Regions from separate parts of the Homo sapiens genome. Here all the other regions are linked to region 5. Evidence: promoter capture Hi-C in human tissues and cell types (Jung and others, 2019). All regions are on one chromosome and are shown on one strand. Each heading gives the region's core, a stretch centred on a gene start or on the middle of the fragment in contact. The rest is flanking DNA. Distances are from core to core; before and after follow the strand shown.

Region 1 (5,700 bases), core at 2,838-5,337, 310 kb before region 5:
TAAAATGCTTTATAGTCCAAATTGCTTCATTAAAATAAAAATCAAGAGCCAGGCACAGTGACTCACACCTGTAATTCCAGCACTTTGAGAGGCCAAGCTGGGCTGATCACTTGAGGCCAGGAGTTCGATACCAGCCTGGCCAATGTGGTGAAACCTTGTCTCTACTAAAAATACAAAAATTAGCCGGGTGTAGTAGCACGCGCCTGTAGTCCCAGCTACTCAGGAGGCTGAGGCATGAGAATTGCCTGAACCCGGGAGGCAGATGTTGTAGTGAGCTGAAATTGCCCCACCATACTCCATCTTGGGTGATACAGTGAGACTGTCTCAAAAAATAATAAAAATTAAAAAAAAAAAATTCAAGCTTTATGGTCCAGTGCATTTTAACAAGTACTTCTTGAGGGCCTGGTATTTTGAGTGTGACTGCTAATGTATAAGGGCACGGGGTGGGGGAGTCTGAAGCAGGTAGCCACCCCAGGAGCTTCCTAAGCCCTTTCCAAATGAACAAAATGGACGGATGAACACACGCTGCTCCCTGGGTTGGCTCTCCACAAGCCTCAGCATGTAACCCAGCTCTGGGGAACAGGCAACTTCAGATGCCACTTTTAAAAAGGGCTGAGAGCAGAACCTTGGAAAGTATACATCTGGAGCAGAAAGAAAGCAACACAGGAGAACCAAGATGAAGAGATGTCACTAAGGTCCAGGGAGAGTTTCAAGAAGGAAGGAATGGCAGAAGTACCAAAGCGGCAGTGGTTAGAGAGGAAAAGCAGAGGAAAGACCACCCAACTTGGCAATGAGGAAGCCACTTGTCAGGCTGAGGATCGGAAACAAAGTCACATTTACAAGGGATTATGGATGAAGCACAACTGACAATCTACTCACTTTACAAAAATTACCTAACTCCTTTACATGACAGGCCCGGAGCAAATAACGGAATGGAATAGTTAATACAACCCACGCAGTGCATGACCTCAGGATGCCTCAGCTGGGTGGGGATACAGACATTAAATACATAACTACATAATGATTTAATGATTGCAGTGGTAAGCGCTATGAAGAAAAGTATTACGAAATTGGCCAGGCGTGGTGGTTCATGCCTGTAATCCCAGCATTTTGGGAGGCCAAGGCAGGCAGATCGCTTGAGGTCATGAGTTCAAGACCAGCTTGGCCAACATAGTGAAACCCCATCTCTACTAAAAATACAAAAATTAGCCAGGTGGTGGTGCATGCCTGTAATATCAGCTACTTAGGAGGCTGACGTGGAAGGATCACTTGAATCCGGGAGGTGGAGGTTGCAGTGAGCCGAGGTCATGCCACTGCACTCCAGCCTGGGCGACAGAGCCACTCTATCTAAAAAAAATTTTTTTTTTTAATAAGAAATCATATGAGGGGCCTGGCCTAAGCTGAGGTGTGTGTGAACAATGCTGCCTGGAGGCAGAGTCAGCATACTTCATGGCCAAGGCTGCCCTGCAGATCAGTCTCCCTGCCGTCAAAATGGATAAATTTTCAAGAATAAATGATCTCGCCAGGTACAGTGGCTCCCATCTGTGATCCCAGCACTTTGGGAGGCTGAGGCAGAAGGACTGTGTGAGGCCTGGCGTTCAAGACCAGCCTGTGAAACAAAGCGAGACCTAGTTTCTTTTCTTTTCTTTTTTTTTTTTTTTGAGCCAGAATTTTGCTCTTGTTGCCCAGGCTGAAGTGCAATAGCGCAATCTCGGCTCACCGCAACCTTTGCCTCCCAGGTTCAAGCAATTCTCCTGCCTCAATCTCCTCAGTAGCTGGGATTACAGGCATGCACCACCACACCTGACTAATTTTGTATTTTTAGTAGAGACAGGTTTCTCCAAGTTGGTCAGGCTGGTTGCTACTCCCAACCTCAGGTGATCCGCCAGCCTCGGCCTCCCAAAGTGCTAGGATTACAGGCATAAGCCACTGCACCCAGCCGCAAGACTTAGTTTCTAATAAAAATTTAAAAAAACAAAAAAATTAGTTGGGTATGGTGGCGCCTGCCTGTGGTCCCAGCTACTCAGGAGGCTGAGGCAGGAGGATCACTTGAGCCCAGAAGTCGAGGCTGCAGTGAGCTGTGTTCGCATCACTGTACTCCAGCCTAGGCAACAGAGTGAGACTGTCTCAAAAAAAAATAAATAAATGAATCAATCTCCACTCTGGCCATAGTGGAATAAGTGGGATCAGGCTTACCCTCCGGCTGTTATCAACTAGAAAACTGGGCAAAATATATGAAACAAGTGTTTTCAGATGTTGAGCAAGAGGCAACACAGTTTGCTCCCTAAGAAGGGAAACAAACCAAGTAACCCTTACCCTGCTCTGGCTATCAGCCAGGAGACCCTTTCCAGACCACAGTATAGGGTAAGAGGTGACACAGAGCACGGCAGTCTTGCTGAGTTAAACAGACAGGAAACGAGTTCAGGGAAGTGGAAGCAGCTGGAACTTGCCAGGCAGAGAATCAGAGAGGAAATTACACAGAAAAAAAGCCTTCAGAATGCTGCACAGGGTTCCTCTAGGGTCTGTGTTAATACATTCACACACACACAGGGTAATACTCTGTGAAGCCGAGCAAAGGTTGCATGAGTGATAACAATCTCCGGAGCTCTCAGAGGCCTGGGAAACATTCAAGTTCTGATCAGCCAGACAAGGGAAACCCTGCTGAGCACCTAGAGCTCTCAGCAGACACTCCAGAAAGGTTACAGTAACTGTCTGGCTAAACAGCCTTAGAGCAGTGGTTCTCAACAGGTGGCAATTTTACACACTCGAGACCAAGGAAGACGTGGCAGTCTGGAGACATTTTTAGTTGGCAAGAATGGTGGGAGGAGGGGAGTGCTACTGACATCCACTGGGAAGAGGCCAGGGACACTGCTAAACATCCTACAATGCAAAGGACAGGGTCCACAACAAAGAATTATCAAAATGTCACATAGTTGGAGAATGCCAAAACGTCACAGCACTACTGTTGAGAAGGCCTGACTTAAAGCTACTCTAACCCCACTCCAAAGAAAGCTTAAACAAGCCCTGAAAGGATCAATCTGAACTGCAAGTAACCCAACTGCATGCCAAAGTTTAAAAAGCAAAACCAACGAAGTCTAGCACTCAACAATGGGGAATTCCAAATAGCCACAGCATCCAAACAAAAATGGTTAGACATGTGAAGAAGGAAAATGTGACCCAGAATAAGGATAAAAATGAGTCAAGAGAACAAACCCAGAAAAAACAAAGATGGTGGGAACAGAAGATAAGGATGTTCAAAAAGCTAAAATAAATGTGCTTATAGAAAACTATGAACATGAGAAAAATGGAAGTTATGAAAAAGAATCAAGTGGAACTTTCAGAGATTAAAAAATACAATATCAAAAATGAGGCCAGGCACAGCGGCCCACGCCTGTAATCCTAGGACTTTGGGATGCTGAGGTGGGAGAATCGCTTGAGCCCAGGAGTTTGAGACCAGCCTAAGCAACAAACTGAGATCCCATCTCTACAAAAAAAAATTTTTTTTAAGTTAGCCAGGCATGGTGGCATGAGCCTGTGGTCCCAGCTACACAGGAGGCTGAAGCAGGAGGACTGCTTGAGCCCAGGAGGTCAAAGCTGCAATAAGCCATGCTCACACCCCTGCACTCCAGCCTGGGGGACAGGTCAAGATCCTGTCTCAAAAAAAAAAAAAAAAGAACAACAAAGAAAGAGAAATGAAAAGTTTACTAAATATACTTAACAGCATATTAGATGCTGCAAAAGAAAAGATCAGTGAATCTAAAGACCTATCCAAGAAATCCCTGTCCATCAACAGGTAGAGAGATAAACAAGTTATGGTACATCTATCTAATAGAGTGCTGCTCAGTAACACAAAAGAACGGACCCCCAAGACATGAACAGTGTGGAAGAATCTTACCAGCATCACGCTATAAAAAAGAGAGCACACACACAGAAGAGTCCACACTTCTTTGATTCCACTTCCTTGAAATCCTAGACAGGCAAATCTAATCTATAATGAAGTCTATGAGTGGGTGCCTAGGACCAGGATATGGGGGGACTGATAGAAAGGGTTATGAGGAATCTCTTTGGGCATGATGGAGATGTTCTATTATCTTCATTATGGTGATGGTGGTTACAAGTGTGTTTATATTTGTCAAATATCCATAATGAAAATGGATATTCATTTAATGTAAATCATACTTCAATAACGTTGATTGTAAATGGAATGATTTGAGCACTCTATTGTATATTTTAAAAATAAAAAAGATAGGCCGGGCGCGGTGGCTCACACCTGTAATCCCAGCACTTTCGGAGGCCGAGGCAGGCTGGTCACCTGAGGTCAGGAGTTCGGGACTAGCCTGGCCAACACGGTGAAACCCCGTCTCCACTAAAAATACAAAAATTAGCCAGGCATGGTGGTGCACGCCTGTAATCCCAGCTACTCATGAGGCTGAAGCAGGAGAATCGCTTGAACATGGGAGGCAGAGGTTGCAGTGAGCTGAGATCCTGCCATTGCACTCCAGCCTGGGCAACAGAGTGAGACTCTGTCTCAAATAAATAAATAAATAAGATAGTACCCACTTCTTTTGTACATGTTTCAGATTCTCCATTAAAAAAAAATTGTTAAATGGGAGAATAATGTTGACCTTAGGTAGAAGCTTCAATTCAGAATGATACTGCATTCTCCAAAACCGTGGTGAAAAAGCCAGGTGCAGTAGTGCACACCTGTAGTCCCAGGTACTTGGGTCGCTGAGATGGGAGGATCACTTTAGCATAAGAGTTTGAGTCCAGCCTGGGCAACATAGTAAGACCCTATCTCCACAAAAAATTAGAAAAAACCCATGGTGTTATCCATAACTTCACCACAGTTTTTCCTTTGCAAATCTTTCAACTATGTTCTCTAAGTGTCAGTGGCATGTGAAATTTTCAAAGACTGAAACAAAGTTCTAGACTATAAAAAATATTCTGGAGGCCAGGCATGGTGGCTCACGCTTATAATCCTAGCACTTTGGGAGGCTGAGGCAGGCGGATCACCTGAGGTCAGGGGTTCAAGACCAGCCTGGCCAACATGGTGAAACCCCGTCTCTGCTAAAAATACAAAAAGCAGCCAGGTGTGGTGGCAGGCACCTGTAATCACCGCTACTTGGGAGGCTGAGGCAGGAGAATCACTTGTACCCAGGAGGTGGAGGATGCAGTGAGCCAAGATTGCACCACTGCAATGCAGCCTGGGTGACACAGTGAGATTCCGTCTCAAAAAAAAAATATGTGTGTGTGTGTGTGTGTGTGTACATATACATATTCTGGAAACCTTAAGAGACAATGCTATACAGGAAAATTGTTCATGTTGTATGCAGAAGCAGAATGTCAGAACTACTCTCGCCATTCTCCTGCCTCAGCCTCTCCAGTAGCTGGGACTACAGGTGCCCACCACCATGCCTGGCTAATTTTTTGTATTTTTAGTAGAGATAGAGTTTCACCGTGTTAGCCAGGATGGGTGAACCCAGGAGGCAGAGCTTGCAGTGAGGCAAGATAGCGCCACTGCACTCCAGCCTGGGCGACAGAGTGAGACTCTCTCTCAAAAAAATAAATAAATAAAAGAACTAAGTACTTTCTGCCTGATGAAACTCAGAGTTGAGCTTTGAGCAGTGGCAGTATCGTAGCCAATGAGGTTTATCCAAGGCGTAATTATTGGTAGTTGAAACTCAAGAGTTGAGCCCCATA
Region 2 (5,498 bases), core at 2,157-4,656, 470 kb after region 5:
GGCTGGTCTTGAACTCCTGATCTCAGGAGATCCGCCCACCTCAGCCTCCCAAAGTCTTGGGATTACAGATGTAAGCCACCACACCCAGCCTGAGGCAGTGGATTTAGAGGGAAAAAAGCCTCAATTATATTTATGATTATATTTACAACTATATATTAATTATATTTATAACTCTATGATCTCTGAGGCATCAAAAGCCAGGAATGGGGTCCAAGTGGCCTTGAAGCCTGCTTTCTGAAGACAAGGACCCTATGTACTGCTCTCACATAGGGCTGAGAAAATGCGAAGGATCACTAAGGAAGGAAGAAAAGAAAATATTTTCTGGCTGGGCGTAGTGGCTCACACCTGTAATCCCAGCACTGTGGGAGGCCGAGGCAGGCGGATTACCTGAGGTCAGGAGTTTGAGATCAGCCTGGCCAACATGGTGAAACCTCATCTCTACTGAAAATATAAAAATTAGCCAGGCGTGGTGGCACACCTGTAATCCCAGCTACTCGGGAGGCTGAGGCAGGAGAATTGCTTGAACCTGGGAGGTGGAGGTTGCAGTGAGCCGAGATTGCGCCACTGCACACCAGCCTGGGCGACAGAGCGAGACTTCATCTCAAAAATAAATAAACAAACAAAATATTTTCTTGTCTTTATGGTAAATCTTGATGTGTCCTACTTTATGGAGTCAGCTCCAAAGATGAAGGAACAGAAGGCCAAACAAAAGGAATAGAATGTTTGAGGCTGGAAAGAAACAAGCTGAGGGAAAATATGATGACAGGCTGTGAAACAGTTGAGGTGATAAAAATAAGGCTAGGCTGGGCACGGTGGCTCATGCCTGTAATCCCAGCACTTTCAGAGGCCGAGGTGGGCGGATCACTAGGTCAAGAGATTGAGACCATCCTGGCCAACATGGTGAAATCCCGTCTCTACTGAAAATACAGAAATTAGCTGGGTGTGGTGGCGTGTGCCTGTAATCCCAGCTACTCAGGAGGCTGAGGCAGGAGAATCGCTTGAACCTGGGAGGCGGAGGTTGCAGTGAGCAGAGATCGCACCACTCCACTCCAGCCTGGCGACAGAGTGAGACTCTGTCTCAAAAAAAAAAAAAAAAAAGATCTGGCCTTGAGCCTCACGTACAGGACCAGAAACCCAATGTGGTTTGTACCCTAAGAGCAGATTCCTTCCTCGGGGATTTGTCAGGCTCACAGGCGCTTGCTAGATAAGCAGAGTGCTGTTAACAACGGGCAAGTGGACCAGTGTCCTCGTGCTGGCAAAAGGCATATTGATCCCCTATAGGAGAGCATTCGGGGAAGCCAAATTACTAGAAATATTTGATGAGCAGTTAATTAGATTAACTAGTGTTAGTTATGTAACTTAAATGTTTAATGTCACCCTCTCTGGATGCTAGAATTAGATTGTTCGGGATTCAAGTCTAGTCTTGGTTTTTTATTAGCCGTGTGGTCTCTGTTGAATTCGTAACAACTCAACTATAGATTTCTCTTCTATAAAATGGGATGATAGGTTGGGCGTGGTGGCTCATGCCTGTAATCACAGCACTTTGGGAGGCCAAGGCAGGTGGATCACCTATGGTCAGGAGTTCAAGACCAAAAATACAAAAATTAGCCAGGTACGATAGTGGGTGCCTGTAATCCCAGCTACTCAGGAGGCTGAGGCGGGAGAACTGCTTGAATCTGGAAGGCAGGGGTTGCAGTGAGCCGAGATCGCGCCACTGCACTCCAGCCTGGGTGACAGAGGAGACTCTGTCTCAAAAAAATAAATAAATAAAATGGGATGATCATTGTGCTTGATACAGCCATAAGGATTAGACAAGAAATAAAGCAGCTTTTTTTTTTTTTTTTTTTTTTGAGACAGGGTCGCATTGTCCACTGTTGCCCAGGCTGGGGTGTGGAGTGCAGTGGCGAACTCTGCTCACTGCAACCTTTGCCTCAGCATTCTGAGTTGCTGGGACTATAGGCGAGTGCCAACACACCTGGCTAAGGTTTTTTGTTTTTTGTAGAGATGGGGGTCTTACTATGTTGCCCAGGCTGGTCTCGAACTCCTGGTGTGAAGCAATCCTCCTACCTCAGCCTCCCAAAGTGCTGGGATTACAGGCATGAGCCACTGCACCCAGCCAGAAATCATTATCCTATGATTCTCAGGAGAACAGTTGTATTTCCAAGATCTTCCTTGGCTCCTATTGTTACCCCTGTAAAGCTTGCAATAATTATGATCATTTACATGTTTTTTAAAAACTCTTTAATCAAGATAATCAACAAACGAAGGGGAGACATATTGATTTTCTAAGACATAATGAGCAGGGAATCTTCCTGCCCTCCTTGGGGTAAGGCCTAAAGTTACATGTGAACACTCTGGTTTTCTCTATACCTGTTGAGAACATGTGTGAGACATGATGCAGCTCATCAAGTAATTATTGAATACTTGGTGTGTGTAGCTTCCTGTTCTAGGCACTGGAGATTCAAAGATGACTCACGATGTGTTTCCTGCCCTTGGACTCAAAATTTAACTAGTAAAACTGGTTAAAACAAACACACAAAAAATTAATGCAATAACTGTTATAGTGGAAAGAAATGAGCTCACAGCTAAAGGAGTAAATCACTCCAGGAGTATCTCATTTCAGCTGGGTCTAAAGGATTAGCAAAGCATTAACAAGTGACACGAAGACATGTAAGGTGAAGAGCCATGATCAAAGGCATAAAAGTCTACAAGAGTATTTGGGGGACAGCGAGTCATCTTACACCATTGGATGAGGGTGTAGAGTAGTGATGCTAAACCTTTAAAGACATTTGGAAAGCTTTCATTGTCTGCCAACATCAACTGCCAAGCCTAACCACTTCTAACATTTAAATTTTTTTTTTCCCCAAGATGGAGTCTTGCTCTGTTGCCCAGCCTGGAGTGCAGTGGTGCAATCTTGGCTCATTGCAACCTCTGCCTCCCAGGTTTAAGCAATTCTCCTGCCTGAACCTCCCAAATTGCTGGGATTACAGACACGCACCACCATGCCCAGCTAATTTTTGTATTTTTAGTAGAGATGGGTTTCACCATGTTGGCCAGGCTGGTCTCAATCTCCTGACCTCACGATCTGCCTGCCTCGGCCTCCCAAAGTGCTGGGATTACAGGCATGAGCCACCAAGCCCGGCCTATTCTAACATTTTAAAGACTCATCCTTCCATATCATCTCCTGCCTAGACTGTAGGAGTTTTTTTCCTTATTAATGTCTGCTTTCTTCAGACCCCTGTGAAAGCCTTATTTATTTATTTATTTATTTATTTATTTATTTATTTATTTATTTATTTTGAGACGGAGTTTTGCTCTTGTTGCCCAGGCTGGAGTACAATGGCATGATTTTGGCTCACCACAACCTCCACCTCCCGGGTTCAAGCAATTCTCCCGCCTCAGCCTCCCAAGTAGCTGGGATTACAGGCATGCGCCACCATGCCCGGCTAATTTTGTATTTTTAGTAGAGACGGGGTTTCTCCATGTTAGTCAGGCTGATCTGGAATTCCCAACCTCATGTGATCTGCCCACCTCAGCCTCCCAAAGAGCTGGGATTACAGTCGTGAGCCACCACGCCGGCCTATTTATTTATTTATTTATTTTGAGGTGGAGTCTCGCTGTGTCGCTCAGGCTGGAGTGCAGTGGCGAGATCTCGACTCACTGCAGCTTCCGCCTCCCAGATTCAAGCAATTCTCCTGCCTCAGCCTCCTGAGTAGCTGGGACTACAGGTATGTGCCACCATGCCCAGCTAATGTTTTTGTATTTTTAGTAGAGATGGGGTTTCACCCTGTTAGCCAGGATGGTCTCGATCTCCTGACCTTGTGATCTGCCCGCCTCAGCCTCCCAAAGTGCTGGGGTTACCCCGGCCAGCCATATTTATTTTTTACCTCTCAGCTCAAATGACTGCTCTTAAAGGTATAAAGGACTGTTGCTAAACCTATATCCAATGTTTTAGAAGTTGATTTTGTTTTCTGTGCTGTTACTTACTTTTCCAAACATGCATGGATCACCCTTTATAATCCATCTCTATATTTTTCATTTTGCAAAACACCTTCATGTCTGCCTTTTCAAGTGATGCTCACAGCTCTATTTGATCAGCCAGGCAGTTTTGTCCTAAATTCAGAAATGAAGTGACTTGCTCAGGGTTGTCCGGCAACTTGTTGGCAAAATCAGAATGAGTACAGTAGTCTCCCCCTTGTTCACAGCTTCACTTTCTGCTATTTTCTGCTATTGGTTACACATGGTCAACTGCAGTCTGAAAATACTAAATGGAAACTTCCAGAAATCATGTTTCGAATTGCACACCATTCTGAGTAGAGTGGTGAAATCTCACAACATCCTGCTGCATACTGCCTGGAATGTGACTCGTTCCATTGTCCAGCATACCCATGCTGTATATACTACCCACCTATTAGCCACTTAGTAGCCATCTCAGTTATCAGATTGATAACACATACTATATATAGGATTCAGGACTATCCTTGATTTCAGACATCCACCAGAGAGCTTGGAACATATCCCCCATAAAAAATGGGGGACTGTAGGCTTGGTGTGATGGCAATCACGGCCTATAATCCCAGCACTTTGGGAGGCTAAGGTGGGTGGATCACGAGGTCAGGAGTTCGAGACCAGCCTGACCAACATGGTGAAACCCCGTCTCTACTAAAAATACAAAAATTAGCTGGTTGTGGTGGTGTGTGCCTGTCATCCCATCTACTCAGCAGGCTGAGGCAGGGGAATCACTTGAACCTGGGAGGTAGAGGTTGCAGTGAGCCAAGATTGCACCACTGCACTCCAGCCTGGGCGACAGAGCGAGACTCTGTCTCAGGAAAAAAAAAAAAAAAAAAGATGGGATCTCACTCTGTCACCCAGGCTGAAGTGCAATGGCGTAATCATAGCTCACTGCAGCCTTTAACTCCTGGGCTCAAGCAATCCTCCTGAGTCGCTAGGACTACAGGCACATGCCACCATGTCTGGCTAATTAAAAAAAAAAGAATTATTTATAGAGACAGGGTCTCACTATGTTGCCCAGGCTGGGAAGGGCTTTAATTGTGGAAACTTCAGGCTCTCAGGCAGACAGCAGAGGTATTTAGGTGATGACTTATTAATCTACAAGTATGTCCTGAATAACTGCTTAGGACCCAGGTCTATGTTCAAGGTTAGGTACTACCAGAGATAGATAGAGGATGTCCCTAGCCCTCGAGTGCCTTCTATTTCGTTTTATATTAGTGTGGAAATATCAGACTAAACCTTGAGTATTAGAAGGTAAAAGTCAAGGATGAAAAGGGAAGTGTAAAGGTATAGGCTACAGGTGTGGAAGGAATGGAGCGGAGCAGTCACTGGACATCACAGTAGTCATATGAAACCGCATGCTAAAGCGAGCATGACTTTCAAGCCTCTGCTTCTAGCCTTTACCCACTCTGGCCCAGGCTACTCTTGCTTCTTTTTTTTTTTTTTTTTTGAGATGGGGTCTCACTCTGTTGCCCAGGCTATCAGGC
Region 3 (5,554 bases), core at 22-2,521, 410 kb after region 5:
TGAATCTTCTTTGGATCCTGATTCAAACCAATAAATGGTGAAAAAGATGTGACACAAGACAATTAGAAATTTCAACTCTGGATATCTGATGATATTAAAGAATTACTAACAAAACTAATTTAAATCTTACACATGTAGTGGGGAAGACACTGGTAAAGGACATATAATTTCAGTGGGAATAAGTTCAAGAGATCTATTATACAACATGAATATTACAGTTAATAATAACGTATACCTGAAAATAACTGAGAGCAGATTTTTAAGTGTTCTCATCACAAAAAATGACAAGGATGTGAGATGATGCATATATGAATTAGCTTAATTTTCTGCAATTATGGGGTCTTGCCACATTTCCAGACTGGCCTTGAACTCCTGGGCTGAAGCAATCCTCCCACCTAAGCCTCCCAAAGTGCTGGGATTATACATGTGACTGAGCCACTGTGCCCGGGTCTGCCAATGTTTTGTAAAAAGCTTTATTAAGGTAGCTTTATTAAGCACGTGGTGGCTCACGCCTATAATCCCAGCACTTTGGGAGGCTGAGGTGTGTGGATCACCTGAGGTCGGGAGTACGAGACCACCCTGAACAACATGGAGAAACCCCGTCCTAAGTAAAAATACAAAATTAGCCAGGTGTGATGGTGCATGCCTGTATGTAATCCTGGCTACTTGGGAGGCTGAGGCAGGAGAATCGTTTGACCCGGGAGGTGGAGGTTGCGGTGAGCCAAGATTGCGCCATTGTACTGTGCAGCCTGGGCAACAAGAACGAAACTCCGTCTCAAAAAAGAAAAAAAAAAACACTAAATACACCTCCAAAATTTCCTTGTATTTTGTTTTTGGTGATAATATTTATCATGAGATCCATCCTCAACATAATTCAAAGTGCATAATGCTATACGATTAATACAGGAACTATGTTGTGTAGCAGATCTCTAGAACTTACTCATCTTGCATAACTGAAACTTTATACCCACTCAACAGCAATTCCCCATTTTCCCCACCCTGTCAAGGGTTTTTGACCTTGTTTTTTGAAGCCAAACTCAGAACTTAGATCCAGACTGCAATGGCCGTGTTTGTAGACACTGCACAAAACTGCCCATGTCATACCATCAACTTGACATTCACCTCTCTCCTGACAATGAGATCAGGAATTCCCTGAGAATAAGAACCACATCTAACAAGTCGTTTTTTTTTTTTTAATTTTTTTTTTGAGACGGAGTCTCGCTCTGTTGCCCAGGCTAGGGTGCAGTGGCACGATCTCCGCTCACTGCAAGCTCCGCCTCCCAGGTTCACGCCATTCTCCTGCCTCAGCCTCCCGAGTAGCTGGGACTACAGGCGCCCACCACCATGCCCGGCTAATTTTTTGTATTTTTAGTAGAGACGGGGTTTCACCATGTTAGCCAGGATGGTCTCGATTTCCTGACCTCGTGATCCGCCTGCCTCGGCCTCCCAAAGTGCTGGGATTACAGGTGTGAGCCACTGCGCCCAACCGGTTTTTACTTTTTTTTTTTTTTTGAGTCGGAGTCTCGCACTGTCGCCCAGGCTGGAGTGCAATGGCGTGATCTTGGCTCACTGCAACCTCTGCCTCCCAGGTTTAAGTGATTCTCCTGCTTCAGCCTCCGGAGTAGTTGGGATTACAGGTGCCCACCACCACACCTGGCTAATTTTCTGTATTTTTAGCAGATACGGGGTTTCACTATGTTGGCCAGGCTGGTCTTGAACTTCTGACCTCGTGATCTGTCCGCCTCGGCCTCCCAAAGTGCTGGGACTACAGGCGTGAGCCACCACGCCCAGCCACGGTTTTTACTCTTTAGCACTGTGCCCAGGATGGTAAGTACTCAATAAATGCCAACCAAATTGAATATATAATAGAAAGCAGAAAACAAATCAGCCAATTCATAGTTTTTGGCTCTTATATCTTGTGAATGGGCCGGGCACGGTAGCTCACGCCTGTAATCCCAGCACTTTGGGAGGCCAAGGCTGGTGGATCAGTTGAGGCCAGGAGTTCAAGACCAGCCTGGCTAACATGGCAAAACCCCATCTCTACTAAAAATACAAAAATTAGCCAGGCGTAGTGGTGTGCACCTGTAATCCCAGCTACTTGGGAGGCTGAGGCACGAAAAGAACTTGAACCCTGGAGGTGGAGGTTGCAGCGAGCTGAGAAAGTGCCCCTGCATTCCAGCCTGGGCGACAGAGTGAGACTCGGTCTCAAAAACAAAAAATAAAAAACAAACAAAAATCTTGTGAATGACATTACCTAAACAAGAGTAAAATAGGGGCCAGGCGTGGTGGCTCAGGCCTGTAATCCCAGCATTTTGGGAGGCCGAGGCGGGCAGATCACTTGAAGTCAGGAGATGGAGACAAGCCTGGCCAACACGGCAAAACCCCGTTTCTATTAAAAATACAAAAATTAGCCAGGTGTGGTGGCACATGCCTGTAATCCCAGCTACTCAGGAGGCCGAGGCAGAAGAATTGCTTGAACCTGGGAGGTGGAGGTTGCAGTGAGCTGAGATTGGGCCACTGTACTCCCTCCAGCCAGGGCAACAGAGCGAGCCTCTGTCTCAAAAAAATAATAATAATTAAAATAAAATAAAACATATATAGCTGAGTGTGGTGGGGTGTGCCTCTAATCCCAGCTACTTGGAAGGCTGAGTGAGGCTCGAGAATTGCTTGAAGCCTGGAGGCGGAGATTGCAGTGAGCCGAGTGCCACTGCACTCCAGCCTGGAGCCTGGGCGATAAGAGTGAAACTATGTCTCAAAAAAAAAAAAAAAAAAAACCCAAAACAAAACATTGAAGTGTTTTGTATTTTTGGCCAAGAATACAGCTCAAACGAAGCTTTTGTTAGTTCTATTAGACACACTTTTCTCCAATTCTCTGTCTAGGCACCTTAACATTGTATTATATCCATGATAGCAGTCAGAGAAGACTCCTTAAGCCAGGACCACCTGAGAGGCAGCACAAGAACTACTACAGAGAGAATGACATTACCTAAACAAGAGCAAAATAGGGGCCGGGCGTGGTGGCTCACGCCTGTAATCCCAGCATTTTGGGAGGCCTGGTCCTACATTCTAGGAGTTACTGTCTAACATAAAGGACAAAATAGGTAGCACAATGGTTCAAGGTGAAATTACATAGGTTTGGAGAAAGATAACATAACCAGGTGTGATAGAAAAATGCTTCATAAATGTGGAATTTGAACGGAACCCTGAAACGTGAGCAGGACATTTAAAGGCAGAGTTTGACAGTGGAGGGCAGAGGATGTATTCTGTAGGGGAAAGGTTTGGATTTCTGGGTACAATAAATACATGTGGGAATTAGTTATGAGTAAGAAAAAGAACTGGCTTAAAGCACAGGACAGAGGAGAGGGTAGTAAGACAGGTGAAAGATGTGCTGGTTGCCCCCCATAGTTTGGATGGTCTTGAATAACAAAATACCTCAGATGACTGGCAATGGAAAACCACTTATGCTTTCTGGGCAGAGAAGTAAAGATTCACTCATTTCACAAAGAAGAAGACTTAATTTCCTCAAAAAGTGTGTCTCTACTTTTGCAAAAACTACATGATGCACTTACCACCCTTCTGGCTCACAAAGCCCCTTCGTACCTGACCCCATGATAACCTATTCAGATTTATGTCTTGCCCTCTAGCACTCTCCCCTTCAGTCAAGCTGTCTTTTCATCCAGACACAGTTCCTACTGTCATCTCCCTGTCTTCACTCTGTACTTTACGTCTGATCCACTCCTCTCAACACCAGCTCATCCCTGGCACAACAAAGCTTTCTGAGGTTCTTGTGGCCACTACTTTGCTCCAAATGTGTTTCTGATAAAATAAGGACACAGTTTAGCACTTAAAATTTTCTCAAAACGATCTATTTTCCCAGTTGGGTGTGAAAGCTCTTTAAGGGCAAAAGCCGGGCTTGAAGCAACATATACTTTTGGACAGATTCAGCAAACCCCACCATCTGCCTGGAAAAAAACAAGGCTCAAGGTAAACTCCCGAGGTTGTTGGATTGCCAGTTTGGTTTATTCTTCCATTACCTTCTTTCTTTCATTAGTCCCTTGTTCTCAACAACCAAGAGAAAAATACAACAACATCCAATGCAAAGGCTTCTTACTATGCTGTTCCATGACAGTGGGGACAAATATAAAAAAATGTTACCGCAGAAGGTGGGGATCAAAGAACATTTGTAGAATGCTTTATAATTCACCTATAAATTAAAAATGAGCAAAGTGCTAGTATTTTTATTATAAGATGTCATTTAGGCCAAGCGTGGTGGCTCACGCCTGTAATCCCAGCACTTTGGGAGGCGAAGGCGGGTGGATCATGAGGTCAGGAGACCGAGACCATCCTGGCTAACACGGTGAAACACCATCTCTACTAAAAAATACAAAAAATTAGCCAGGAGTGGTGGCGGGTGCCTGTAGTCCCAGCTACTCGGGAGGCTGAGGCAGGAGAATGGCGTGAACCCGGAAGGCGAAGCTTGCCATGAGCCGAGATTGCGCCACTGCACTCCAGCCTGGGAGACAGAGCGAGACTGTCTCAAAAAAAAAAAAAAAAAAAAAAAAAAAATCCCATTTATACCTCTGATTGTAAAAGACTAAGCATAATCCTAACTATAATTAATTTTATATACTCAGTACTGTTCAGACAGATTATCTTTAGAATATAAATTCTCTAGGCTGGCACTGTTCAATAGAAATATAATGCAAGCCACAAACATAAGCCACATTATATGTAATTTTAAGTAAAAAAAATTCATATTAAAAAGTAAAAAAAAAAAACAAAAAACAAAAAAAAAAAAAACCCTGGTGAAATTAATTTTAGTAATCTATTTTACTTAACCTGGTATGTCCAAAATATCATTTCAAGGTTTCATCAATTTAAAAAATTGTTGGCCGGGTATGGTGGCTCATGTCTGTAATCCCAACACTTTGGGAGGCCAAGGCAGGTGGATCATGAGGTCAGGAGATACAGACCATCCTGGCTAACATGGCGAAATCCTGTCTCTACTAAAAATACAAAAATTAGCCGGGCGTGGTGGCGGATGCCTATAGTCCCAGCTACTTGGGAGGCTGAGGCAGGAGAATGGTGTGAACCTGGGAGGTGGAGCTTGCAATGAGCCAAGATCGCGCCACTGCACTCCAGCCTGGCAACAGAGCGAGACTCTGTCTCAAAAACAAACAAACAAAACAAAAACAAAACTAACAAAAAAAATTGTTATGCTTGAGACACAGACTTGCTCTGTTGCCCAGACTGGAGTGCAGTGGTAGGATCACAGCTCACTGTAACCTCCAACTCCTGGGCTCCAGTGATCCTCCTGCCTCAGTCTGCCAAGTAGCTAGGACTACAGTTTATGCCACCATGCTCAATTAATTTTCTTTTCTTTTCTTTTTTTTTTTTTTTTTGAGACGGGGTTTCCTCTGTTGCCCAGGCTGGAGTGCAGCAGAATGGTCATGGCTCATTGCAGCCTTGACTTCCTGGGCTCAGGTGATTCTCCCACCTCAGCCTCCCGAGTAGCTGGGACTACAGGTTCATACCAGGCACCAGGCTAATTTTT
Region 4 (5,429 bases), core at 2,720-5,219, 430 kb after region 5:
AGGTCAGGAGATCGAGACCATCCTGACCAACATGGTGAATCTCCGTCTCTACTAAAAATACAAAAATTAGCTGGGCATGGCGGCGTGCACCTATAGACCCAGCTACTCGGGAGGCTGAGGCAGGAGAATTGCTTGAACCCAGGAGGTGGAGGTTGCAGTGAGCCGAAAGTATGCCACTGCACTCCAGCCTGGCTACAGAGAGAGACTCTGTCTCAAAAAAAAAGAAAAGAAAGAGGAAAAGAAAAAAAAAGAAAGATACTCCCCAATGTTGTCCTTGGTGCAGTGAAACTAGCACAATTCTACTGAAGGTAATTGGTGGTGTGAATCGTAGACATCAAAAATAGTGCTTTAATACATAATATGGAGAAAATGTTTGTTCTATATTTAAAAAGGGAGGGCGGACAGGAGAGGCAGAATGGAATCACTGTTAAGAGTCAGAGACGTGCATCCCAATTCTGGTTTTTCTAATTAGCATTGTGACCTGGGGTGAGATATGCTACCTTCTCGCTGCAGTTTTCTTTTCTATAAAATAAGGAAATGGTACCCATTTCACAGGCTATCATAAAAACCCAATGAAACAATACATGCATGGTGCCAACTGCCATCCTCTGTATCCTTATACCGCCAGCCAAGAAGACATTCAACATGGTTAACTCAACAATATATGCTTTTTTGGCTTCTTAGCTTTCTAATTAGATTCCTAGAATCTAATCTTATCTAAACCTTTGATAAATTTTCCCCACAAAAATGACTTCTCTGATAAAGTACTGGATTTCTGTACGATGAAGGTACAATCAGTTGACAGAAGCTGGTGACTGACTAAATCCAGGAATGAAGGAGAAAGAGTAAAAAAGAAACAGAACAAGCCAGACATGGTGGTTTGTACCTATAGTTCCAGCTACTTGAGAAGCTGAAGCAGGAGGATGGCTTGGGCCCAGAAGTTTGAGGTGAGTCAAAGGAAGGGTGGGGGAGGGTGGTAGGAAGAGACAGAACAGCTTTGCAGGCTGGCCAGTCTTGTTCTATCCAGAATATTGACGCCACATTAAACCTTCCTGAAATGAGGCTCAAAAATTCCAAAAATTCATGATTGGTGATGCTGACTGAATCAGGTCCAAATTCTCCATCTTAGCTCCCAGAGCTCTGTACAGTTTGTTCCCATTCCCTTCCACCCACCCAACCTCACCTTTGACTATTTCCTGCTGGGCATCTTCTATATCAGTATCTGATGTCTTGTCCCTTCCCAGCTCAAGTCACCTTCTAAATCAAAGTCATCTCAACCTTGACCAGTACAAACTGACCACAAGTTTTAACTGTAGCATAATGTTCTATGTGTTTTTCCCCCAGTATTAGCTTTTTAAGGGCAGTAACTATGCCTTTTGTTTCTGTAGTCTCTACAGCAATGGATACAAAACAGTGTTAGACAAACAGGAATTCTCACTGACTTTGTCAGATGAAACAGGTATAGATGGTTCCTGCACAGGACAAGAGCAGGAAGGGAACATGGAAAAACAAAACACTGTTTATATGCTAAGTGAAAGCCTAAGTATACGAATTTACCTTTATTGCTCTCTTTGCATCACTATTTTTTTAGTGATGCGAAGTTTTTTTACGCATCACTATTTTTTTAGTGATGCAAAGTTTAGAAACTTTGAAAGACAAAGTTTCATTATGTTGCCCAGGCTGTTCTCGAACCCCTGGGCTCAAGGGATCCTCCCACTTCATCCCCCACAAAATGCTGAGAATATAGGCATGAGCCACTGCAACTAGCCTGTGTCAATTCTTACACCTTTTTTTTTTTTTTTTGAGACAGGGTCCCACCCTGTCGCTCAGGCTGGAGTGCAGTGGCACAATCAAGGCTCACTACAGCCTTGACATCCTGGGTTCAAGTGATCCTCCTACCTCAGCCTCCCAAGTAGCTGGGACTACAAGCATGTGCCACCATACTTGGTTCATTTTATTTTACAGAGATGGGATCTCACTGTATTGCCTAGGCTGGTCTCCTAAGCTCAAGTGGCCTCCCAAAGTGCTGGGATTACAGGCATAAACCACCATGCTCAGCCTGTGTCACTTCTTAATAGAGAAAAATAAAAATTCCCAAAAACACAATTACAGGTTAGATTTTTTAAAATCCTGCCATGTAAAAATGGAAGCTAATTGTGAATACACTAATTTTTGAAGATATTAAGGTTTAGTAATTTATCACCTATGATTATGACTACATAGCAAATATGTCAGACAATTTCCAAAGGAAAACAACCAAAACAACCTTTTATACTCACCACTGCAGAGTTTAGTCAGTTAAGTAGACTGGTTATTATACTAGGAATAATCCATGTGTACTGAGAATAAGACAGTAGAAGAGAATGATTTCCAGCAGTCTATTTTATAACTAAACCCACAACTTTTTAATATACTGCTTACTATCCATTATAAGGGGCAACTGATTGCTAAAAACCCCAACTTATTTCCTGGGGAGATCAGAAGTCTATCTGCATTCTCTTGGTAAGAAATACATTAGCAGCTCTAAGACCCCATGAACTTTCACAAGCCACAGAAATTCTGAAAGTCAACATGAAGGGTACCTAACAAATGGCCTAACAGAGGTTGATACGAACCCTCAGACATCATAAGAAGGCAGAGAACGCACAGCCATAAAAAAGAATGAAATAATGTCCTTTACAGCAACACAGATGCAGCTGGAGGTCATTATCCTAAGCGAATTAAGGCAGGAACAGAAAACCAAGTATCTCATGTTCTCACTTACAAGTGGAAGCTACACACTGGGTACACATGGACATAAACATAACAATAGGCCTTAGGGATTAGGAGGGGGAGGGAGAAAACGGGGTAAGGGCTGCAAAACTAATCATTGGGTACTATGCTCATTACCTGGGTGATGAGCAACAATTGTACCCCCAAACCTCATAATCACACAATATACCCATGTACACAAAAAAACTTGGACATGTACCCCCGAATCTAAAATAAAAGTTGAAATTGTAAAAAATTTTAAGAGAACAGAAGATACCTTGCACCTTTCTCTTTATATGTATAAAATATATATTAAAAACCATATATTAAAATATAAAAAAGATATACAAATATATAAATATAAAATATATATTAAACATTTATACATATATATATAAATTTTTTTTTTCCAGATGGAGTTTCACTCTGTCACCCAGGCTGGAATGCAGTGGCGCGATCTCGGCTCACTGCAACCCCTGCCTCCAGGTTCAACCGATTCTCCTGCCTCAGCCTCCTAAGTAGCTGGGACTACAGGCACATGCCACTGTGCCCCGCTAATTTTTGTATTTTTAGTAGAGACGGGGTTTCACCATGTTGGCCAGGCTGGTCTCAAACTCCTGAGCTCAAGTGATCCACCCACCTCGGCCTCCCAAAGTGCTGAGATTACTGACGTTGAGCCAGTCACCAACGCCTGGCCTCTGTAAGTATCTTTTTTTGATGTTGTTGTTTTTGAGACGGAGTCTCACTCTGTCACCCAGGCTGCAGTGCAGTGGCACGATCTTGGCTCACTGCGACTTCCGCCTCCTGGGCTCAAATAATTCTAATGTCTCAGCCTCCCGAGTGGCTGGGACTACAGGCGCATGCCACCATGCCGGCTAATTTTTATATTTTTAGTAGAGACAGGGTTTCACCATACTGGTCAGGATGGTCTCAAACTTCTGAGCTCTGGTGATCCTCCCACCTCAGCCTCCTAAATTACTGGGATTACAGGCATGAGCCACTGTGCCTGGCCTTATTTATTTTTTTAGACAGATTCTTGCTCTGCCACCCAGGCTGGAGCGCAGTGGCACAATCCCGGCCACTGCAACCTCTGCCTCCAGGGTTCAAGCAATTCTCCTGCCTCAGCCTCCTGAGCAGCTGGGATCACAGGCGTACACCACTATGCCCAGCAAATTTTTGTATTTTTAGTAGAGACAGGGTTTCACTATGTTGGCCAGGCTGGTCTCAAACTCCTGACCTCAGGTGATGTGCCCGCCTCATCCTCCCAAAGTGCTGGGTTTACAGGTGTGAGCCACTGCGTCCAGTCGATAGATCTTTACATTAGAAAAATGTTGACTGAAAAGCTTAGTCTGGTATTCTCACTATACAGAATGTTAAATGACATTAGGACAAGGAGGGGAAAAAAAGCAATTATAAGTCATCAGGTCGGGCACAGTGGCTCACACATATAATCCCAGTACTTGGGGAGGCAGAGCCAAGAGAATCGTTTGAGCCCAGGAGTTCAAGACCAGCCTGAGCAACATAGTGAGACCTTGTCTCCATTAAAAATTAAAAAAAAAATTAGCTAGGTATGATGGCATCCATCTGTAGTCCCAGCTACTCGGGACTGAGGCGGGAGGATCGCCTGAGCCCAGGCTGCAGTAAGCTATCATCACACCACTGCATTCCAGTCTGAGTGACAGCGCAAGACTCTGTGCCCTTACTGCCCCCCCCCAAAAAAAGTAATCAGTTTTTCCTGAGGATGAAAGGAAAAGCTAAGTAACTTTTACTAGATGCAGGACACTAGCCAAAACGAATAAAAGTTATTAACTCTTTTAGAGTAAAAGCTAGGTTTAAAAGTTAAACAAAATAACCATTTTACTCTGCTATTCCTGAAAACATATACGCCATCATCTTATCTGAGAGCTTAAAATACATCAAAGCAAAGTATCAGTGAACTAGTACCAGGAAAGTTGTAGACTACAATAAAGAATGAGGAGGAGTTGAATTGGGAGAATAACTTGGGCTGAGAAGCAGAAAAATAATAGTGACCATTTCTTTCACAGTGACTGGGAACGGAAGCAGCCTTTATCTGAAAAAGCACTCATCTATTTAATCACAACTGTACCTCTCACTTCTCTGACATTAATTTTCATTTATTTTTTGAGACAGAGTCTCGCTCTGTCACCCAGGCTGGAGTGCAGTGGTGAGATCTTGGCTCACTGCAATCTCTGCCTCCTGTGTTCAAGCAATTCTCAGCCTCAGCCTCCTGAGTAGCTGGGATTACAGGCACGCATCACCACGACTAGCTAATTTTTGTATTTTTCGTAGAGATGGGGTTTCATCATGTTGGCTAGGCTAGTCTCAAACTCCTGACCTCAAGTGATCTGCCCGCCTCGGCCTCCCAAAGTGCTGGGATTACGGTGGCTCACGCCTGTAATCACAGCATTTGTGTGAGCCACCCAGTCCAGCATTTTTTTTTTTTTTTTTTTTTTTGAGACAGAGTCTCACTCTGTCATCCAGGCTGGAGTGCAATGGTGCCATCTCAGCTTACTGCAACCTCCACCTCCCGGGTTCAAGCGATTCTCCCGCCTCAGCCTCCCAAGTAGCTGGGATTGATTACAGGCACCAAACATCATGTCCGGCTAATATTTGTATTTTTAGTAGAGACAGGGTTTCGCCATGTTGGCCACGCTGGG
Region 5 (6,213 bases), core at 2,242-4,741:
TGTATTTTTGTAAAGAAAGGGTTTCACCACGTTTGCCAGACTGGTCTTGAACTCCTGACCTCGTGATCTGCCCGCCTTGGCCTCTCAAAGTGCTGGGATTACAGGCGTGAGCCACCACACCAGGCCTAGCTGTGCTTTAATAACATCACTCGGGAAACAGAAGGTAGACCAGAGGGTAAAAAACAAAGAGCAGGTAGGGAGCTGGATGAGAAGGAAGGTCAAAGGGTCCAGGAATACTATAGTGATAATGACTGAAAATATGATTACCTGCGCACAGCCCTGCTACAGGTGGGAAAATGGAGGAACAATAAAGTAATACCAATAGCACTTTTTATTGCTGTAATGCTTTGCAATTCCCAAAGTGCTTCATTTATAACTGTGATTCTCAAGCCTAGTTACATCTGGAGAGGTTTCTAAAAATACCAATTTCTCGGCTGGGCACAATGGCTCACATCTGTAATCCCAGCACTTCGGGAGGCCAAGGCAGGCAGATCAACTGAGGTCAGGAGTTCGAGATCAGCCTGGTCAAAATGGCAAAACCTCATCTCTACTAAAAATACAGAAATTAGCCGGGTTTGGTAGCACGTGCCTGTAATCCCACCTACTGGGGTGGCTGAGGCAGAAGAATCACTTGAACCTGGGAGGCAGAGGTTACAGTGAGTCGAGATGGCACCACTGAAGTCTAGCCTGGGTGACAGAGCAAGACCTTGTCTAGGCCTTAACCCAAATCAATTAAATCAGAATGTAAACTCCACAAGGGCAGGGATTTTGGCTGTTTTCCTCACTACCAATGCCTGGCACATGCGTGGTGCTCAGGAAGTATTTGTTGAATGAATGATTGAATGAATGAATGAATATACCATTATTAACTGAGATCCAAGGAACACACCAAGCTCCTGATCTCAGGAGCTTAGATTTTTTTTCACAATAAGGATACCTTTCCTATTTCTAAAGCACTACTTATAAAAATATCTCAGAAAACATTTAGAAGTTAATCAATGTCCTCTGTGAGTGAGGGGGAAAAAAGGTAGGCAGTGTCTAGTGATGTGACAAGAAGAAATTAGTGGCCACGGACACAGACAGGCTTAGGCAAGCTCTAACTCCTGTGAAATTTTGAGGTAATCATATTGTAAGGACTCAAGCATAATGAGAAAACAACTATATATTAACCAGCTACCCTACCCTGGATATTTGAACAAAACCCAAAAACCCAAATGCATATACATACCTATTATTTTGTTCTGATACTTCAGGATTACTTTGATATATGTGTTCTGGCTTTGTACAGAGTAATTCTTTGTTTGATATCTGAAAAACAGTGGCACATGGAAATGGATGAAACCTGTTGGGACAAACATCCAAGGGACCTTTTTTTTTTTTTTTTGAGACAGAGTCTCGCCCTGTCGCCCAGGCTGGAGTGCAATGGTGCGATCTCGGCTCACTGCAACAACCTCCGCCTCCCGGGTTCAAACGATTATCCTGCCTCAGCCTCCCGAGTAGCTGGGATTACAGGCATGAGCCTGGCCCCAAGGAACTATTTGGATAAGGAGAAGCCCTGAGTTTGGAAAGAATCATAAAAGTAGCATAGAATTGGGCCGGGCACAGCGGCTCACACCTGTAATCTCAGCACTTTGGGAGACCAAGGTGGGCAAATCATGAGGTCAGGAGTTTGAGACCAGCCTGCCCAACGTAGTGAAACCCTGTCTCTATTAAAAATACAAAAATTAGCTGGGAGTGGTAGCGCACACCTCTAATCCCAGCTACTCAGATGGCTGATGCAGGAGAATCCCTTGAACCCAGAAGGCAGAGACTGCAGTGAGCTGACATCGCACCACTGTACTCCAGCCTGGGCAACACAGTGAGACTGTCTATAAAAAAAAAAAAAAAAAAAGTATCCAGCCATTGTCAAATATGGTGGGAGGGAAAGGGCAAAATCACCCTTGTTTTAGAACCACTACCCTATCCAATGACTGTTCATTCACCCATCACTACTCAAAACTTTCTCTTCCTACTTCCAGATATTTTCTTGTGGAGAAAAAAAGCCTCTCTTCCTCTGATTTATCTGGTAACTCTCCAGAAAGTCTAATTGTGTAGCACAAGGGTAGAGTGTACTTAAAATTGTGAAAGTTTTTCCTCATACTATTCCAAAAAAAGCAAAGTTTTTATCTTTTCATTGGTATTTGATGAAACTAAAACGTTTTCTCCAGATGTTACGAACCTCCCAGAGAGTTAATCCATAAATATTTACCTTATCTCCCACCCCAGGCACTGCAAATTACAGAAAAGATCTGACACCCATTTTCCAGATCTGTTCAAGAAGTATCTGTTGGGCATGGTGGCTCACGCTTATAATCCCATCACTTTGGGAGGCCGAGGTGGGAAGATCGCTTGAGGCCAGGAGTTCGAGACCAGCCAGGCCTACATAGTGAAACCCTGTCTCTACTAAAAACAGAAAAAATTAGCCGGGCGTGGGTGGTGTACGGCTGTAGTCTCAGCTACTTGGGAGGCAGAGGCAGGAGAATCACCTGAACCCAGGAGGTGGAGGTTGCAGTGAGCCGAGATTGCGCCACTGCACTCCAGCCTGGGTGACAGAACGAGACTGTGTCTCAGAAAAAAAAAAAAAAAAAGTGACTCGTATAGTTCTTGTTTTTACAACCCGAATATCTGAATTCAGGTAAAATATTCTGCCTGACCAGGGCTACATGATAAGCCACGTACTTGATCACTTTGTAGGGTCGCAGCACCCTTCTTACTACTATTTTAGGTAATTCAGGTTTCTGACGGGGAAGCCAGTGGAGCTGAGCGGGCTGCAAGAGGGGTGGGTTCTGGATGAGAAGTTGGGACGCGTGACGAGGGAGTAGAGAGTGAACCTTGGCTTAAAAGGAAGGAAAATAACTGTGAAGAAAAGATGACCCAACTTGAAATAAAACCTGAAGACCTTATCTCCCACTTGAGAGAGAGAAGAAGCTGAAAGCCATCAGCTTGCACTCTGGGCTCACAGACAGAGAGGGTGAGGGGTTGAGCCCAGATCTATGACTTCAGACCCCTGTCTCGGCCCCTAGGCCTGATCATTCATTCAAACTCTCAATAAACACGGATTACCAGACCCTGCGCAGGGAACACATCTGGGAAAACAGCTGCAACCTCGGATACCAGCACGGGACAAGCTATCTCAGGGCAATGAGGAACAACTAAAGAGAATCCCAGGAACCAGGTAACCAATCGCCAGAAGCCCTCCGCCCTCATGGTCCATTGGGTCAAGGCCCCACTGCCGCCTCGTATCGCCAGCCTCCAGTCCTGCCTCCACGACGCGCCCTTCCCCAAGGCTGGCCGGGTCTGGATGTCGCCATCCCCTATTCGGAGCTACAGACCTCGCAGCTGAACTCTTAAAAAGAACCTCGCTTCTTCCTCACGGTGCTCCAGCTCCACACACCGTACTGAGCCTCGCCAGCCACCGTACGCGAGGTCGCGGCGCGTCCGTGACGTCACTGATGTGCGCTTCTCCCGCACTAAGGGAAACATGGCTCTAACGCGGCCGGTGCGGCTCTTTTCCCTCGTGACTCGGTTGCTCCTGGCGCCGCGACGGGGCCTCACGGTCCGCAGTCCCGACGAACCCCTGCCGGTGGTGCGCATCCCAGTGGCTCTACAGCGGCAGTTGGAACAGCGGCAGAGCAGGCGGCGGAACCTCCCGAGGCCGGTGCTGGTTCGACCCGGACCGCTGCTGGTTTCGGCGCGGCGGCCGGAGTTGAACCAGCCGGCGCGCCTCACACTGGGCCGTTGGGAGCGCGCGCCGCTAGCCTCTCAAGGCTGGAAGAGTCGACGCGCGCGTCGGGACCACTTCTCCATCGAGCGCGCGCAACAGGAGGCGCCAGCGGTGCGAAAGCTCTCGTCTAAGGGCAGCTTTGCTGACCTGGGCCTGGAGCCCCGTGTGCTGCACGCACTACAGGAGGCTGCGCCTGAAGTCGTTCAGCCCACAACCGTGCAGTCTAGCACCATCCCCTCACTACTTCGCGGCCGCCATGTCGTTTGCGCCGCAGAAACCGGCAGTGGCAAGACTCTCAGCTACCTCCTGCCGCTGCTTCAACGGCTCTTGGGCCAGCCAAGCCTGGACTCCCTTCCTATCCCCGCGCCCCGAGGCCTGGTCCTTGTTCCTTCCCGAGAATTGGCCCAACAGGTGCGGGCTGTGGCCCAACCCTTGGGCCGCTCCTTGGGCCTGCTGGTGCGGGACCTGGAGGGAGGCCACGGCATGCGTAGGATCAGGCTGCAGCTGTCCAGACAGCCTTCAGCAGATGTGCTTGTGGCCACTCCAGGGGCTCTGTGGAAGGCCCTGAAAAGTCGACTGATCAGTCTGGAGCAACTCTCCTTCTTGGTGTTGGATGAGGCAGACACACTGCTGGATGAAAGCTTCCTGGAACTGGTGGACTACATCTTAGAGAAGAGCCACATAGCAGAAGGCCCAGCTGACTTGGAAGACCCCTTCAATCCCAAAGCTCAGTTAGTGCTGGTAGGAGCCACATTTCCCGAAGGTGTAGGCCAGTTGCTGAATAAAGTCGCCAGCCCAGATGCTGTCACCACCATCACCAGCTCCAAGCTCCACTGTATCATGCCTCATGTGAAACAGACATTTCTGAGACTGAAGGGAGCAGATAAGGTGGCCGAGCTGGTGCACATCCTCAAGCATCGTGACAGAGCAGAAAGGACTGGTCCCTCAGGAACTGTTCTGGTGTTCTGTAATAGCTCCAGCACTGTGAACTGGCTGGGATATATTCTGGATGACCACAAAATCCAACACCTAAGGTTGCAGGGGCAAATGCCAGCCTTGATGAGGGTAGGAATCTTCCAGTCCTTCCAGAAGAGCTCCCGAGACATACTTCTCTGCACAGACATAGCCTCTCGGGGCCTGGACAGCACTGGTGTGGAGCTGGTTGTCAATTATGATTTCCCCCCAACGCTGCAAGATTACATCCACAGAGCAGGGAGAGTGGGCCGTGTGGGGAGCGAGGTGCCAGGCACCGTCATCAGTTTTGTGACCCATCCCTGGGATGTGAGCCTGGTTCAGAAGATTGAGCTGGCGGCTCGCCGAAGGAGAAGTCTTCCAGGACTAGCATCCTCGGTGAAAGAGCCTTTGCCCCAAGCAACCTGATTTTGACAAATCTGATTAAAATGTGATGCTAGAACAGGGATCTTTCCCAGTATCTTGAGTGGGTGACCACACTTGTCAGTGGGAGGCTCTGGGCTGCCCTGTCGGCTCCTTGAGGGCGGGATGAACTGCTTTGTGACTTGGAAAGGTACGCTGCTGGCCAGCATTGGAGAAGAAGCTGCTGAGCATGGCTTTCTGTAGTCTTTAGCAAGACACAAGTGGATTTTGACTTTGTATCATGTCATGATTTCTAACAATAAATGATGTTTTTATGTGCCTCCCCTAAGAATAATTAGCACCGGGGCGGAATTCAGTAGTTTCTGAGGATTCATACACCAAACCTCCACATCTAGGACAAAGGCTCTTTCAGTTGATGTTTTCATTTATAAACATTTAGTTTGTATTTCCTGCCCCCAAAAAGGTATCCATTAAGCCCCCAGGGAAAGGAAAGGAAAGGAAATGTGACTAGCAGTAGACAGAGTTACTCTCTAACAATGCCCAAGACAAACGGGCGTCTTGGCGAAATCTCTGGAAGGTACTGGCAGAAAAGTAAAGGGTAGACGAACACAGAAGTTTTGCTTGTACATTTTCAGGTTCTGCCTTCTATCCCAACTCGGTAGCCGAGAAAGAGGAGAGATGATTAAACGGTTTTACAAAACTGGAAAAATAACCATATAGCATTTTCTTTATATATATATATACGTATATATATATATATATATATATATATACATACGTATATATATATATACACATACATATATATACGTATATATATATATGTATATATATATATACGTGTATATATATATACGTGTATATATATATGTGTATATATATATATACACAAAAAAAAATTACAAAAATCAACCCGGCGTGGTGGCACGCGCCTGTAGTCCCAGCTACTCGGGAGGCTGAGGCAGGAGAATCACTTGAACCTGGGAGGCGGAGGTTGCAGTGAGCCAAGATCATACCACTACACTCCAGCCTAGGGGACAGAGCAAGACTCCATCTCAAAAAAAAAAAAAAAAAAAAGCCGGGTGTGGTGGCTCACGCCTGTAATGCCAGCACTT

The links. The method cuts DNA at HindIII sites, captures the fragments that hold promoters and counts their contacts. A contact is called where the count stands out against the background at its distance.
Region 1: a fragment that was not itself captured here is called in contact with the fragment with the promoter of DDX28 in region 5 in 2 of the 25 tissues and cell types used here (dorsolateral prefrontal cortex and lymphoblastoid cells).
Region 2: a contact is called between a fragment that was not itself captured here and the fragment with the promoter of DDX28 in region 5, in 1 of the 25 tissues and cell types used here (bladder).
Region 3: a fragment that was not itself captured here is called in contact with the fragment with the promoter of DDX28 in region 5 in 3 of the 25 tissues and cell types used here (aorta, dorsolateral prefrontal cortex and spleen).
Region 4: a contact is called between a fragment that was not itself captured here and the fragment with the promoter of DDX28 in region 5, in 1 of the 25 tissues and cell types used here (heart left ventricle).

The regions. Positions count from the first base shown.
Region 1 is chr16:68,329,443-68,335,142 of GRCh38, reverse strand. All of the region lies in intron 6 of PRMT7 (protein arginine methyltransferase 7), which reads right to left. It also overlaps the pseudogene RNU4-30P. Among named protein-coding and RNA genes, the nearest start is that of PRMT7, 21 kb to the right of the region's middle. The HindIII fragment of the contact is 4,800 bases long and covers 1,688-5,700 here.
Region 2 is chr16:67,553,055-67,558,552 of GRCh38, reverse strand. The region is part of intron 1 of LOC124903703 (a long non-coding RNA gene); the gene reads left to right. Among named protein-coding and RNA genes, the nearest start is that of CTCF-DT, 6.5 kb to the left of the region's middle. RefSeq lists an enhancer at 5,356-5,498. The HindIII fragment of the contact is 4,862 bases long and covers 976-5,498 here.
Region 3 is chr16:67,603,977-67,609,530 of GRCh38, reverse strand. The region is part of intron 2 of CTCF (CCCTC-binding factor); the gene reads right to left. Among named protein-coding and RNA genes, the nearest start is that of CARMIL2, 38 kb to the left of the region's middle. The HindIII fragment of the contact is 5,706 bases long and covers 1-4,124 here.
Region 4 is chr16:67,590,758-67,596,186 of GRCh38, reverse strand. The region is part of intron 2 of CTCF (CCCTC-binding factor); the gene reads right to left. Among named protein-coding and RNA genes, the nearest start is that of CTCF, 31 kb to the right of the region's middle. The HindIII fragment of the contact is 6,285 bases long and covers 827-5,429 here.
Region 5 is chr16:68,020,510-68,026,722 of GRCh38, reverse strand. DDX28 (DEAD-box helicase 28) reads left to right here and starts at 3,491. Exons shown (of 1, transcript NM_018380.4): 1 at 3,491-5,807. The coding sequence starts at 3,521. The coding sequence ends at 5,143. It overlaps DUS2 (dihydrouridine synthase 2), which reads right to left and starts at 3,439. Exons shown (of 17, transcript NM_017803.5): 1 at 3,372-3,439; 2 at 1,229-1,308. RefSeq lists enhancers at 3,339-3,578, 3,289-4,039, 4,040-4,790. The HindIII fragment of the contact is 9,907 bases long and covers 1-6,213 here.